2 separate regions of the Homo sapiens genome follow, and region 1 is linked to region 2. The links are contacts of gene promoters, found by promoter capture Hi-C in blood cells and fetal thymus (Javierre and others, 2016). All regions are on one chromosome and are shown on one strand. The core of a region is centred on a gene start or on the middle of the fragment in contact, and the rest is flanking DNA. Distances in the headings are between cores, read along the strand shown.

The links. The method cuts DNA at HindIII sites, captures the fragments that hold promoters and counts their contacts. A CHiCAGO score of 5 or more calls a contact.
Region 1: a contact is called between the fragment with the promoter of GOT1L1 here and the fragment with the promoter of LSM1 in region 2, in 3 of 17 cell types (erythroblasts, megakaryocytes and M2 macrophages). The highest score is 8.9, in erythroblasts.

The regions. Positions count from the first base shown.
Region 1 is chr8:37,937,358-37,944,630 of GRCh38, reverse strand. It overlaps GOT1L1 (glutamic-oxaloacetic transaminase 1 like 1), which reads left to right and starts at 4,507. Exons shown (of 9, transcript NM_152413.3): 1 at 4,507-4,716; 2 at 5,750-5,931; 3 at 6,882-6,993; 4 at 7,245-7,273. The coding sequence starts at 4,602. RefSeq lists an enhancer at 4,485-5,001. The HindIII fragment of the contact is 5,963 bases long and covers 1-4,816 here.
Region 2 is chr8:38,171,470-38,178,662 of GRCh38, reverse strand. LSM1 (LSM1 homolog, mRNA degradation associated) reads left to right here and starts at 2,170. Exons shown (of 4, transcript NM_014462.3): 1 at 2,170-2,388; 2 at 6,630-6,698. The coding sequence starts at 2,343. It overlaps BAG4 (BAG cochaperone 4), which reads right to left and starts at 1,808. Exons shown (of 5, transcript NM_004874.4): 1 at 1,524-1,808. The coding sequence starts at 1,793. RefSeq lists enhancers at 866-1,205, 2,116-2,265, 1,487-2,344, 2,676-2,765, 2,345-3,202. The HindIII fragment of the contact is 945 bases long and covers 1,521-2,465 here.

The DNA.
Region 1 (7,273 bases), core at 3,258-5,757, 240 kb after region 2:
ACAGAGCGAGACTGTGGCTCAAAAAACAAACAAACAACAACGAAAAAGAATTTGGAGGCCAGGCTTAATGGCTAATGTCTAATTCCAGCATTTTGGGACTTGGAGGCAAGAGGATCACTTGACCCCAGGAGTTTGAGACAGCCTGGGCAACATAGTGAAACCCCATCTCTCCCAAAAATTAGAAAAATTAGCTGGGCCTGACGGTGCATACATATAGTCCTAGCTATTCCAGAGGCTAAGGCCTGATCCTGGGAAGTTTGAGGCTGCAGTGAGCCTTGGTCGCACCATGGCACTCTAGCCTGGGCGACAGAGTGACATCCTGTCTCAAATAATAACAATAATAATAATAATAATAATAATTTGTAATGAATGATGCAGTGAACACTTGCTGACTGTCTTCCCAGAATTCCTTCTCCCCTCTCCCATTCCTAAGAGCACCTGGAATCTCAGGGGGAATCTTTCTCGGCTGGCACCACCCTAGGCTCTAGGTGGTTGGTTTAAACTGATGGAGTATTCCATTCTCAGCCATGTTAAGATTAGGGATGGGCGAGGGACTCAACTGAAGCCAAGGAGAAACAACAAAGGGGCCCAGGGAATTCAGGAAAGGAAAAGTAAACGTTTTATAAAGGAAAAATTTTAAATATCAGGACCCCTACAAACTTCTTTTTTTTTTTTTTTTTTTTTTTTAAGACAGAGTCTTGCTCTGTCACCCAGGCTGGAGTGCACTGGTGCTATCTGGGCTTACTGCAACTTCTGTCTCCCAGGTTCAAGCGATTCTCCTGCCTCAGCCTCCCTAGTAGCTGGGATTACAGGCACCTGCCACCACACCCAGCTTTTTTTGCATTCTGAGTAGAGACGGGGTTTCACCATATTGGCCAGGCTGGTCTCGAACTCCTGACCTCAAGTGATCTGCCCACCTCTGCCTCCCAACATGCTGGGATTACAGGTGTGAGCCACTGTGGCTGGCCTAATTTTTGTATTTTGGTAGAGACAGGATCTCAAGTGCCTGTAATCCTAGCAGATGGGGAGGATGAGGTGGGAGGATCACTTAAGGCCAGGAGTTTGAGACCAGCCTGGGCAACATAGCAAGATCCCACCTTTGCAAAAAATTAAAAAAAAAATTAAAGGCTTCAGAGAATTCTATTGCATGGATATCATTATTAATTTAAACATTCCTTCGGTAATTGGTATTTGGTTTATTTGCAAACAAAGCTGACATGTAGATTCCTTAAGTGTGTATCACTTCGTTTATGTGCTGCATCCCATCCATCATCCACTTTTTTTTTTTTTTGAGATGGAGTTTCACTCTTGTCGTCCAGGCTGGAGTGCAATGGCTCAATCTCGGCTCACTGCAACCTCCGCCTCCCTGGTTCAAGCTGTTCTCCTGCCTCAGTCTCCTGAGTAGCTGGGATTACAGGCACAGGCCATCAAACCCAGCTAATTTTTGTATTTTTAGTAGAGACGGGGTTTCACCACATTGGCCAGACTGGTCTCAAACTCATGACCTCAGGTGACCTGCCCGCCTCAGCCACCCAAAGTGTTGGGATTACAGGCGTGAGCCACTGTGCCCGGCCCCATCCACTTTTGTTCTCACATCCAGCGTCAGCCAGAGAACCAGCCTGACGCATCCAGGACAGTAGAGCCAAGGGGATGCCAGAGAATGAAGCTGGGGCCCTGATGATAACTGTGTCCCTCTGGACTGAACTCCGACTGGAGTCAGATGTACCCTGGCCCTCCCAGTTAGGTGCCAATACTTTCTCTCTGTTGCTCAAGCTGGTTTGGACTAGGTCTTTTTTAAATTACCTGCAGCATAAAAGGTTCTCACTGGCACACAATAAAATCCTCACAGCTGAAATGTTAAGTGAAGAAAGTATGATGAAAATGACACATAAATGTTGATAGCAATTACCTTAAAATATAAATGTCAAAGAATAGAAACTGGATGGAGGTGCACCCGGACTGAAGTTATGGATTGGTTGTAGGGAATTTGTGTGCTTCATTATAATTTTTTGATGCTTTTGAGTTTTCTACAATAATACGGACTACTTTCATAATCATTTGCCTCAAAACAGGTTCCCTGGGAGCATAGCCTGAGACAGGAGTTCCTGGGCATGTGACTTAGGGAAGGAGTGCCCTTCAGGAAGAACCTGGAAGGGAGTGAAGGAAGCAGGATTGTGAAGGGGAAGGAACCAAGCAAGGATGTGGCCTCAGGTCAAGTCTAGGCTTCGCCTGGTTGGGGAATGGGCCCTGAAGTGTAGATTGAGCCACAGAGGTGAACCGAGACAAGGGGGCTGGCCTTTTTTCTTTTTCTTTTCCTTTTTTTTTTTTTTTGAGACAGTCTCGCTCTGTCACCCAGGCTAGAGTGCAGTGGAGAGATCTCGGCTCACTGTGCCCTCTGCCTCCCGTGTTCAAGCAATTCTCCTGTCTCAGCCTCCTCCCTACATGCGCCCACCACCAAGCCAGGCTAATTTTTTTTTTGTATTTTTAGTAGAGACGGGGTTTCACCCCATTAGCCAGTATGGTCTCAATCTCCTGTCCTTGTGATCTGCCTGTCTTGGCCTTCCAAAGTGCTGGGATTACAGGTGTGAGCCACCGTGCCCGACCTTTTTTTTTTTTTAAAGACAGGATCTCACTCTGTCAACCAGGCTGGAGTGCAGTGCCATGATCATAGCTCACTGCAATACCACCACGCCCAGCTAATTTTAAAATTTTTTGTGGAGTGGGTGGGGGGGGTCTCCCTATGTTGCTCAGGCTGGTCTTGAGCTCCTGGGCTCAAGTGATCCTCCCGCCTCAGTCTCCCAAAGCACTAGGATTGCAGGTGTGAGCCACCATGCCTGGCTGTGGCTGACCCTTTGTATGCCTAAATCAGGCAGTCATTGGCTACCCCTGTCAGTGGGGGTGAAACCTCCAGGTGGTTTCTAGGCTAGCTGACTCCTGCCAGCCAAGCACAATTCTCCAGAGAACACAGGCATATAAGCCTTGTCCACCAGCGAAGCAGCAGCTGGGGCCGGGCACATTGGTGGTGAAGGCCTTCTGGGTGAGACATCAACAGTGTTTGCAACAATCATTTAAAGAGTTATTTAACATCAGGCTGGGTGTGGTGGCTCATGCCTGTAATCCTAACACTTTGGGAGGCTGAGGTAGGCAGATCACTTGAGGTCAGGAGTTTGAGACCAGTCTGGCCAACGTGGTGAAACCCTGTCTCTACTAAAAATACAAAAAAAAGCCGGGCGCAGTGACTCACGCCTGTAATCCCAGCACTTTGGGAGGCCCAGGTGGGCAGATCACCTGAGGTCTGGAGTTTGAGACCAGCCTGATCAACATGGAGAAATCCCCCTCTCTACTAAAAATACAAAATTAGTTGGGTGTGGTGGCGCATGCCTGTAATCCCAGCTACTCGGGAGGCTGAGGCAGGAGAATCTCTTGAACCTGGGAAGCAGAGGTTGCAGTGAGCCGAGATCACACCACTGCACTCCAATGTGGGCAGCAAGAGCGAGACTCTGTCTCAAAAAAAAAAAAAAAAAAAAAGAGAGAGTCATTAAACATCAAAAGGAAAAGAAAGCAAGCAATATGCAGACTGACTCTATAGAGGCTGGCTCTTTTCTCCCCTTGGCCTCTGCTGTCTATACTTACTAGTTGGCTGTCATTGAAACTTAACAAATGGCCAGGTGTGGTGGCTCATGCCTGTAATCCCAGCAGTTTGGGAGGCCAAGGCAGGCAGATCACCTGAGGCAAGGAGTTCGAGACTATCGACAAAGTGAGACTCCATCTCAAAAAAAAAAAAAACCAAAAAAAGAAAGAAAAAGAAACTTAACAAACATATGTAGAAGTCTTGGCTCTAGATAACTGAGAGAAATAGGACTGGCTTAGTGAGTTGCCAATTATATTCTAATAATAGGATTCTTTATTAAAACAACTGTGGAAGAAAACAGTGTTTGCTTTTTATTCCTTTTGAAATCTGGGGCACTTTGCAAAATGGAAATCAATGCCTCGACTTGCATTGGTGTGTGATCTGGGGTTTTTGCTTCTGCAGGAGAAGCCCTATCTGGCTTATTGGCTGCCTGCCTTGCCCTATGTCTTTCTTTCTTTTTTTTTTTTTTAATTTGTATAAATGTGTGAAGTACAAGTGTAATTTTGTTAGATGCATACATCGCATAGTGGTGAAGTCAGGGCTTTTAGGGTATCCATAACCCCAACAATGTACATTGTATCTGTTAAGTAATCTCCCATTATCCTTGCCCTGTCATCTAAGGAGTGGGCTTGTTACTTTGGACTGAGCCACCTGGGGCTAGAGAAGAGAAGGCATTGAGTGAGGGAAACGGGCTTGGGAATTCCGGAGATTGTTATCCTGCCCTGCCCGCTGTCTGAGGGGATTCTCCTCAAGTACCCTGGAATGTTCCTGTGGCCCCTGTGGATCGCCACCACAAAGATCATGAGGTTCTGTTGCCCTGGCAACCCGTTGTCCAGCGCCTCTGCACTGGGGCTGCCAAGGTTCCAGGAAGAGGCAGGACTGCCCGGCCCAGCCTTGGAGGAAGACTTCTGGGCAGAAGCGGAACACAGGAGCAGAGACACATAGTCTTGGCTCCAGTTTCGTTTCAGTTATGCCCACCCTTTCAGTGTTCATGGATGTGCCCCTCGCCCACAAGCTAGAGGGCAGCTTGTTAAAGACCTACAAACAAGATGATTACCCGAACAAGATATTCTTAGCCTATAGAGGTAGATGCCTAGCAGTTCTGAAGTATAAGACTTAAGTGATGGTAACTGCCTCTAGGAGGACAGTGTTCCCTGCTGCAGGGGGAGGGGTGCAGCCCAAGCTTCTGTGGGTGGAGAGATCTTTTCTTGTTAACAGAATTACCCAGTGGGGAAAAGTGCAGATAAGGTCCCAGGTCATTCCATGCTCTCTGCCCTTCTCTGGGGGCTTCTAGGGATTTGGTGAGAGCTATGTCCTCTTCCACAACTCTATGCTTGGGGGCCTGCATGGCCATCCCACACTTCTTCAGATTCTTACCTCCTCTCTCTCTCTTTCTCTTTCTCTTCCTGTTCTTGAACCAAGAATGGTTCTCCAGATTGAGCTTTCTGCTATGCAACTGGGGCTCACCACTGTGAAAGTCAGGGTTACCTTTATTTAGCTTCATCTACCTATAACTCTCATTTTGCATATATATATATATATATATATATATATATATATATATATATTTTTTTTTTTTTTTTCTTGAGACAGGGCCTCACTCTGTTGCCCAGGCTGAAGTGCAGTGGCAAGATCTCAGCTCACTGCCACCTTTGCCTCCTGGGCTCAAACCATCCTCTTGCCTCAGCCTCCTGAGTAGCTGGGACTACAGGCGCTGGTCACCATGTCTGGCTGTTTTGTATTTTTTTGTAGAGACAGGGTTTCATCATGTTGCCCAGGCTGATCTTGAACTCCTGAACTCAAGTGATCCACCCACCTTAGCCTCCCGAAGTGCTGGGATTACAGGCCTGAGCCACCAATCCTGGGCTTGTATAATTTTTAACCTTTAAAATGGCATAGGTTTCAGTTGTCTTTTTTAAAAAGACAAAAATAATACACATTCACTAACAGCATATTCTTTTCATCAAGGAGAAAAGAAAAGGGAAAGTTGTATTTTCACAGGCACCTTCCCACAGCCCCATGGAGTCCAGGAGAGATTTGTTTGCAGGCTGTCTGCAGAGCTCAGCCCTGGGGGCCCAAACCAGGCATCTGGAGCTCCCTCTGTGGTTTTCCTCACAGTCTGCATGACAAATGAAGGCCATCCCTGGGTTTCTCTCGTGGTGCAGAAGACTCGACTACAGATTTCACAGGATCCCTCCCTGAATTATGAGTACTTGCCCACCATGGGCCTGAAATCATTCATCCAGGCCTCTCTAGCACTCCTCTTTGGAAAGCACAGCCAAGCCATTGTGGAGAACAGGGTGAGAAGGTGGGCCCTCCCCTGGCTCATTTAGACACAGAGAGTGGCGATCTGGGTCTGCACAACCTTAAACCCGAAGGGGACCTCGGAGGGCCCCCTGGTATTGATAAAAGAGATACCTGAGGCTCAGAGAGTCCACAAGTCCTTAGCCATCGAGTCAGGATCGGAATCTCAGTCCAGTGGTATTCCCACCTGCTCACACTGCTGATTTGAAAGCTCTTTCAAGACAGGAATGATCTGAATTGGAGGTGGTGTTAGTATTCCCATTACTGTTTTATTTTTTAACCTATTATATATATTTTTTGAGACAGAGTCTCACTCTGTCACCCAGGCTAGAGTGCAGTGGTGCCATCTCAGCTCACTGCAACCTCCACCTCCCAGGTTCAAGCAATTCTGGTGCTGCATCCTCCTGAGTAGCTGGAATCACAGGCATGTGCCATCACGCCCAGCTAATTTTTGTATTTTTTGTAGAGACAGGGTTTCACCATGTTGGCCAGGCTGGTCTCAAACTCCTGGCCTCAGGGGATTCCCTGCCTCGTCCTCCCAAAGTGCTGGGATTACAGGCATGAGCTACTGCGTCTCGCCTCCATTACTGTTTTAGAGTGTTATTTCTGTCTATTTCTTTTTATTTTTTAATGTTTATTTACTTATTATTTTTTTGAGACGGAGTCTCACTCTGTCACCCAGACTGGAGTGCAGTGGCCTGATCTCCGCTCACTGCAACTTCCGCCTTCCGGGTTCAAGTGATTCTCCTGCCTCAGCCTCTTGAGTAGCGGGGATTACACATGCCCAACACCACATCCGGCTAATTTTTGTATTTTTAGTAGATACGGGGTTTCAACATGTTGGCCATGACCTCGAGTGATCCACCCACCCCAGCCTCCCAAAGTGCTGGAATTACAGGTGTGAGCCACCACACCTGGCCTATTTGTGTCTATGTCTTGCTGGCAGGTAGGGGGTGTACACACTGTTGGTGACAGTGGTGCCTTCCAGCTTGGCGTCCAGTTTCTCAGAGCTTGGCATAAGGATGCTCGTATAGTTTACATCATCTCTTCTCAAAAAGGTTAGTCTTACCCAAGATGAGGGGAACAGCAATCCCCGTCCCTTGTTCCTAATCCTCACCCCATTTGCCATCTTCACTGTTATCCCTCATTCTCTGTCATGAGCAAAATGGCAGACAAGCCAAGCTATTTATGTCCTTTTCCTGTTAATGTCCCACCTTCAGCCAGTGACTCTCAGCCCCACACTCCAGTACCTCTGTCTCCGTCTCTCTGTTTCCCATGTACCAGCTAGTGGGGGGCTGTGTTCCCACAGAACTGCATGGACTCGTCTTCCAGGACATG
Region 2 (7,193 bases), core at 921-3,420:
ATTCATATTGTAGCATGCATCAGCAGTTCATTCCTTTCTAAGGCCAAATAATACTCCATTGAATGAATATATTAACACCATATTTTGTTTATCGATGCATCAGTCGTTATGTCCTTACAACATTCCTGTATTCGAATAAAGAACCAGGGCTCCAAGAGGTTCACTCACTTTATAACTCAAATAATAAAATGACATTTGGGGCCGAGCGCAGTGGCTCACGCCTGTAATCCCAACACTTCGGGAGGCCGAGGGGCAGGGGAAAGGGGGATCACTTGAGGTCAGGAGTTCAAGACCATCCTGGCCAACATGGCGAAACCCCGTCTGTACTAAAAATACAAAAATTAGCCGGGTGTGATGGCCGGCGCCTGTAATCCTAGCTACTCGAGAGGCTGAGGCAGGAGAATCGCTTAAACCGGGAGGCGGAGGTTGCAGTGAGCCGAGATGGCACCACTGCACTCCAGCCTGGGCAACAGAGCGAGACTCCAACTCAAAAAAAAAAAAAACAAAAAAAACGACATTTCTACTTTTTGGCGATTATGAATAATGATGCTATGAACATGGGCGGACAAGCTTTATGTGAACATACGTTATCAGTTTTCTTGGGTATATAGCCAGGAGTGGGCTTGCTGGGTCATAGACTAATTCTAATGCTTAATGTTTTGAGGAACTACCAAACTATTTTCCACCATTTTACATCCCCACCAGCAATGTACGAGAATTTCACTATTACATTTTCAACAAATGAGGATAATTCTTGAACGAACAGAGAGGTATGCTGCCACCGCAGAACGACAACCCACTACCCAGAAGACTGTATTAACAAAGCAGAAGTATATGTCCGGCAGGAAAACGGAGAATAAAATGTTGCAGGTCCAAGTGTATTAGGCAAGTGAGTTAACCTCGCAGAGCCCCGGTTCCTTATTCGAAAACAAAAAAAAGGGCCGCTGTAATGCCATTTTACCTTGCAGTCGCCGTGAAAATTAAATCAGTCAATCCGCGTAAAGGTACTTTACAACACTGATTATTCATGATTCGATCTCAGGCAAGGCATTAGGGGCAAACAGCTAAATGCCCAGATCCCTCCTCCTCGCAAAGGTTCCTTCCCCTCGGGAGGGTCCCTGAGCGGCATCGGGGGCTGCAGCCACTTCCCTTCCCCGGGAGAGCCGGCCTGCCAGCCACGCAGGATAAATTGCTAGAGCTGGAGCAGTAGATCCGTGCCACCCCTACCCAGCACCGCTCCCAGGAGAGAGATCTGCAGCCTGCTGCTAAGCTTAGTAAGTCCGCGCAGGATCTTTCTTTTTTAAATGGTAATAAACATATTTTTTGGGGTCGAAGCAGAAAAGGAGGGGCAAAGGGAACACAAGCATGTCCCCCCAACCTCTGATCTTAGTCTCGGTCTCTCCAACACCCCCCGCAACACACCCTCCTCCACATAAGGAAAACAAGTATGAAACCCGATCCTTTACGAACCCCAGCCCCAAGGGCCCTCACCTCCCCGCAAGGACAGAGGGTGCAAAGCTTACCTGGTGGCTTCCTCCGGCTCGACCAGGCTCTGGCCAGGCGCCTCCCGAGGGATAGTAGCCATCGCCTCCTCCGCCTTCTCCCAGCCAGGTGGTCTCCGCCGGGCCGCCCCCGCGCACCCGCCAGGAAATGGGAGGCTGGGGAGGTTCAGGGCGAAGAGGATATAAGGGTGGAGGTGGGTGTACCGGCACATCTCCACCCCCAGGCCCGTAGTAGCGGCCGTAGGACGGACCGTCACTGGGGCCGTAGCCCGAGCGCCTCAGGGCCGACATGGGATCCGCTGCCCTGAAGCGCTTCCCGCCCCGCTCCCCACGGCCGACCCATCGCGCAGGCGCCCGCGGGCGATTGCGAATGGAGAGCAGCGAAGGGGGTCGGACGACGCCAGCCAATCCCAGGCCCGGGCCCGCCCCTTCTGCTGCCGAACCCCGAAAGCTGAGGGACGGAGGTCAGTGACTCTGGGGTCTCGGGAACCCGGAGACGAAGGAAGACACCGTGTTCCTTAAGAGGGAGTATACGTTTCCTCGCCATTTATCCAATGGAGTTTCCTCTTACCTACTTAACAGGAACAGGGAAAGGGTGTCCCCCAACGGTACGGCTGCCCCGCCTCTTCCTGGGGGCCCACACGTGTTACAGGAAGTGGGTAAGGGTAATATGGAGGAGCTTCCGGCAGCCCCCGGCGGCTGAAAGCCGGGGCAGAAGTGCTGGTCTCGGTCGGGATTCCGGGCTTGGTCCCACCGAGGCGGCGACTGCGGTAGGAGGGAAGAGGTTTTGGACGCGCTGGCCTCCCGCCGCTGTGCATTGCAGCATTATTTCAGTTCAAAATGAACTATATGCCTGGCACCGCCAGCCTCATCGAGGACATTGACAGTGAGTAGTTTATCTCCTCCCGGTGGAGCCCGGGGTTAGACCCTTCCTCCCGGGCGGGCGCCTCTTCCGAAGAAGCTTGTAGAATGAGTCCCGGGCGGGGCCGGTGTGTTCTGAGCTCAATCCGGGCGTTCCGCGTCGATGTCCTCCACAGCTGCGGTACACACCGCTTGCCCACCCAGTAGCCTGCTGCTACTTCTGCCCCTCGCAGCCTCCGCCAGCCCTCTAGCTGGTGAGCCCCAAGCGATGGAACTCATTCTTGCTTCCGTGGATCGCGGCAGCAGAGGCCCGAACACGAAAGAAGCCCGGGGAGGGGGGGGGCTTCTCCCCCGTCCACTCCTGCCTGCAGTATTTCGAAGTATCAGCGTGTTACCGGTGGATGGATCGGAATACCTAGAGAGAGGATTCATTAAAAAGCGAAAATATTAAGACAGCGGCAGTTGGACTTAATTGGCAGTAAATGTAGGCGCTCTACGGTGTGGCCATTTGCTAGCTTATTTTACTGTGAGGGTCATTAGCACCTTCAGGTTATTGTAGTAGAGACCACTGTTAGACATGGTATTGACTTTTCTGGAAAGACCAAATCACTTGCAACCTTTTTTTTTTTTTTAAGACAATTTACTTTTGCTTTTACTAAGAAGACCTCCCTTATTCCTGGTTTTTGTCCGGAAGAGGAGCTCAGTCCTATACAAAAGCGAAAAGAACCGTCTGCAGTTGTTCTGGCTTTCCTTTTTTCTAAATTCCGTCTGTGCATTATTCCTCAAGCAACATTTTTTATTGTTTTAATCATGTGATCTTTCTCATTAACTTGTTTCAAGATGATTTACACATAGTTTTAAATAAGTTGCAATCGTCTCAGTTACTCTGTGAATACGCAATTTAGAATCTATGGTTAAAATTTCATTTTACGGGCCTGGCGCGGTGGCTCACGCCTGTAATCCCAGCACTTTGGGGGGCCGAGGCGGGCAGATCGCCTGAGGTCGGGAGTTCAAGACCAGCCTAGCCAACATGGTGAAACCCCGTTCCTACAATTAGCTGGGCACTATGGCGGTGCCTGTAATCCCAGCTACTCGGGAGGCTGAGGCGGGAGAATCGCTTGAACCCGGGAGGAGAAGGTTGCAGTGAGCCGAGATCGCACCATTGCACTCCAGCCTGAGCGACAGAGCAAGACTCCGTCTCAAAAAAAAAAAAAAAATCATTTTATGGTTGACAGATCTTTTTTCTTTTCTTTTCTTTTTTTTTTTTTTTTTTTGAGACAGAGTCTTGCTCTGTCGCCCAGGCTGTAGTGTGCAGTGGCGCGATCTCGACTCACTGGAACCTCCACCTCCCGGGTTTAAACAATTCTTGTGCCTCAGCCTCCCAAGTAACTGGGATTACAGGCGCCTGCCAGCACGCCCAGCTAATTTTTGCATTTTTTGGTAGAGACGAGGTTTCGCCATGCTGGGCAGTCTGGTCTCCAACTCCTGACCTCAGGTGATCCACCCACCTCGGCCTCCCAGAGTACTGGGATTACAGGCGTGAGCCACCGCCTCCGGCCGACAGATCATTTTTTTAAACACAAATTACTTATTGTGCTATGTAAGGGAAATGTAGTGTAATTGGACTAAATATATATTAACATCTATATGAACCTGTTACGTGTAACAGGATGTTTTAGTTGCTCGAGGATGCTCTTTTGCCCTCATCTCTCCTTATATATCCTCTAACACATCCTGCCATTTTACTAAAAATCAGTTTTGCTCTTTGGTCCTCTAACCCCTACCTCTTTGTAGATTCCAGACCCCCTACTTTATGAAAACTTTGAAGCCATTTGATATGCACCCTTTGCTCCCCAACCCTAACACACAGTTTCCTCCTTGTGTTTCTGTATTTTCACCCATCCTTTAATTTGAGTAGGAAGGATTCCTCCCTTTTTGTCTGTCTGTTGTTACTGTCTCCTCTCACTGCTTCTGGAACCTTTTTTCGTTGTTAGCCTTTTTCTTTTATATCCTCTGTCTCCCCAACCCCTGCGTTCTTCCCCTCATGTGTTACTGTCTATCCATCTCAAATATTTTCTCCGTTCTCTTCATATGCCCATCCCTTTTTTCATATCTTTATCCCCAAACCTCGAGTCATTTTCATTTTGTCTGTTTCTTGATCACCTTCAATAGACTACTTACATTACTCCTGCAATCTAATTTTTATCCTGAAATTACTCAAGCTGCATTCTTCAAAGTTATTCGTCTAAGGTCTTCTTCTGTGTTCTCTCCCCTTTGCAGCACTGTGATACTCTCCCCACCAGATTCTTTAATTCTCTTCTCTTGATTTCTCTAACAACTGGTACTTGGTGATTTTCTTACTTCTCTGGCTCTTACTGTTCTCCAAAATAGATGGTCACTTGGATTACATGTGGCCTACTTCTTTAAATCTTTAGTAGATCTCCTGTACTTTAGTTTTTTATATCACCTCTTTGTAGATTTATCCAAAATTGCTTTCTCTAATCTTGATGTCTTTGGTTTTCCAGTCTTACTGTTTCCAACTATCTGCGTGTGTTTCTATTAAGTGTCCTGATAGCACTTTAGAATCACAAAGAGCTAATAACCTTCACCCTGAGCTTGCTGCTTTTATTCCCAACTCTTGGTAAATAGTTTTGTGATGTCTCATAAAACTCCTACATCTTTACCTCACATCTTCAGCACCCCACCCTCTCACACATACCCACTTATACAAACTCAGTAAACAGACTCCATCACTTAATGTTTTCTTGTTCCCTATGAAGTCAAATCCAGATGCAGCCTGCGCCCAGTACTTTTCTGACTTTATCTACTGTTCTTTCCCTTCACACCCTCAGCTTTTAGCTAAACATGGATGTATAGCCCTTTTTTCCTCCTCTTTAATTTACAGATTTCCTTCTCCCCCCCCGCCCCCTTCCTATCACTCTTCTTGTGCCCTAAAATTATCTACCTTTTAAGGTCCAACTCTGATACCTCCTTCAGAAATACAGTTTCTCTCTCTGTAGTCTCATATAATTAAGATTTGCTTTCTGTGGTACTTATTTATAGCGCAAGGAAGAGTATAAATTCCTTCAGGGCAGAGTCACTGTGTTTTTCCTCTGTTCTGCATCTAGAAAGTACTTTAGGCATGGAATGAAAGAAATTTTGCTGGGTGCGCTAGTAACTGGCTTATTTTCATTCTTCAGTGTCAGCTCAAAGTCACCTCTTCAGAGAGGCTTTCCCTTGCCACCCTTCCTTCTGTAACCACTTCTCTCCCTTCATCATACTGCCTTGCTAGTTTATTATTCCATTGTCCTAATCACAATAGGTTATTTTCTTATTTATTTGTCCTCCTCCAACATGAATATAAATTCATAAGGTTGGTGACTTTCTAAGTCTCATTCTCTACTGTATGTCTAGACCCCAGAACAGCACATGCCCCCTCAGTAAACATTGAATTTCTGCTCTAGCTTATTATTAGTCTTCATTTTAAATGCCTGAAGCATTGTGTTTTTATTTAAAGCCTTCTATGGTTACAAACAAAATGTGAGATAGAAGCTCATCTTTTGAGGACAAAATAATTCTACAAATAAGATAATAGTCATCTAGATTAAATTTGTCAATTTACAGATATAAAAACTGACATGACATGAGATGGTTTAAGTGTCAAACATAAGGGTCTTTGGCTAGGCGCCATGGTTCACGCCTGTAATCCCAGCACTTTGGGAGGTGGAGGTGGATGGATCATCTGAAGTCAGGAGTTTGAGACCAGCCTAGCTAACATGGTGATACACCATCTCTACTAAAAATATGAAAATTAGCCAGGCATGGTGGCAAACTCCTGTAGTCCCAGCTACTAAGGAGGCCGATGCAGGAGGATCGCTTGAACCTGGGAGGCAGAGGTTGTAGTAAGCCGAGATTGTGCCACTGCACTGCAGCCTGGGTGACAGAGTGAGACTCTGTCTCAAAAAAAAAAAAAAAGAAAAAAGGAAAAAAAAAAAACCAACATAAGGGTCTAGAGCCAGCTAGTCAGGCTTCCTGGTGCCACGCCCTGTCCTTTTCCCACTCTGCCACACTGCTCTGATTCTTTTCACTACTGATGTTATCTAAATCCGCGTTGCTGTGCTGCTTTTTTCAGTTTTCCAATGAACTTGAACTTCACATTAAATGCATTGGCCGAGGAAGTGGTACAGCTTAAACTGTTAATTATTATCCTAAATACTCGCTGAACTTGTCAGTTTTCATTTAAAAGATTTTTTCCTCTCTCCCCAGAAAAGCACTTGGTTCTGCTTCGAGATGGAAGGACACTTATAGGCTTTTTAAGAAGCATTGATCAATTTGGTATGTATTAATTTATGGACATCTCTTATACTCTGGATAATAACAGCAGCCCATTGCATTTTTTGTTATTTAATATTGAAATTTATCTGCAACTTTTTCACGTGTGTGACCTAGTAGGACTGATTTTAGTGAGTACATCATTGTTTTCTATACATTCAGATTAGGTGGTTCAAAGCTTATATATATTTCCAAGCTCGTTTCTAAAACTGGCTTTCAGTAGAATCCCCAGTAGGGGGAGCCAAATGATAGAAATAAACTCAGTCCACCGAAGAGGCTTGTTTTGTTTTGTTTTGTTTTTTGTTTAGACGCGCTCTCGGTCACCCAGGCTGGAGTGCAGTGGCACAATCTTGGCTCACTGCAACCTCCGCCTCTTGGGTTCAAGTGATTCTTGTGCCTCAGCCTCCCAAGTAGCTGAGATTATAGGCTCCAGCCACCACCCCCAGCTAATTTTTGTATTTTTAGTAGAGACGGGGTTTCGCCATGTTGGCCAGGCTG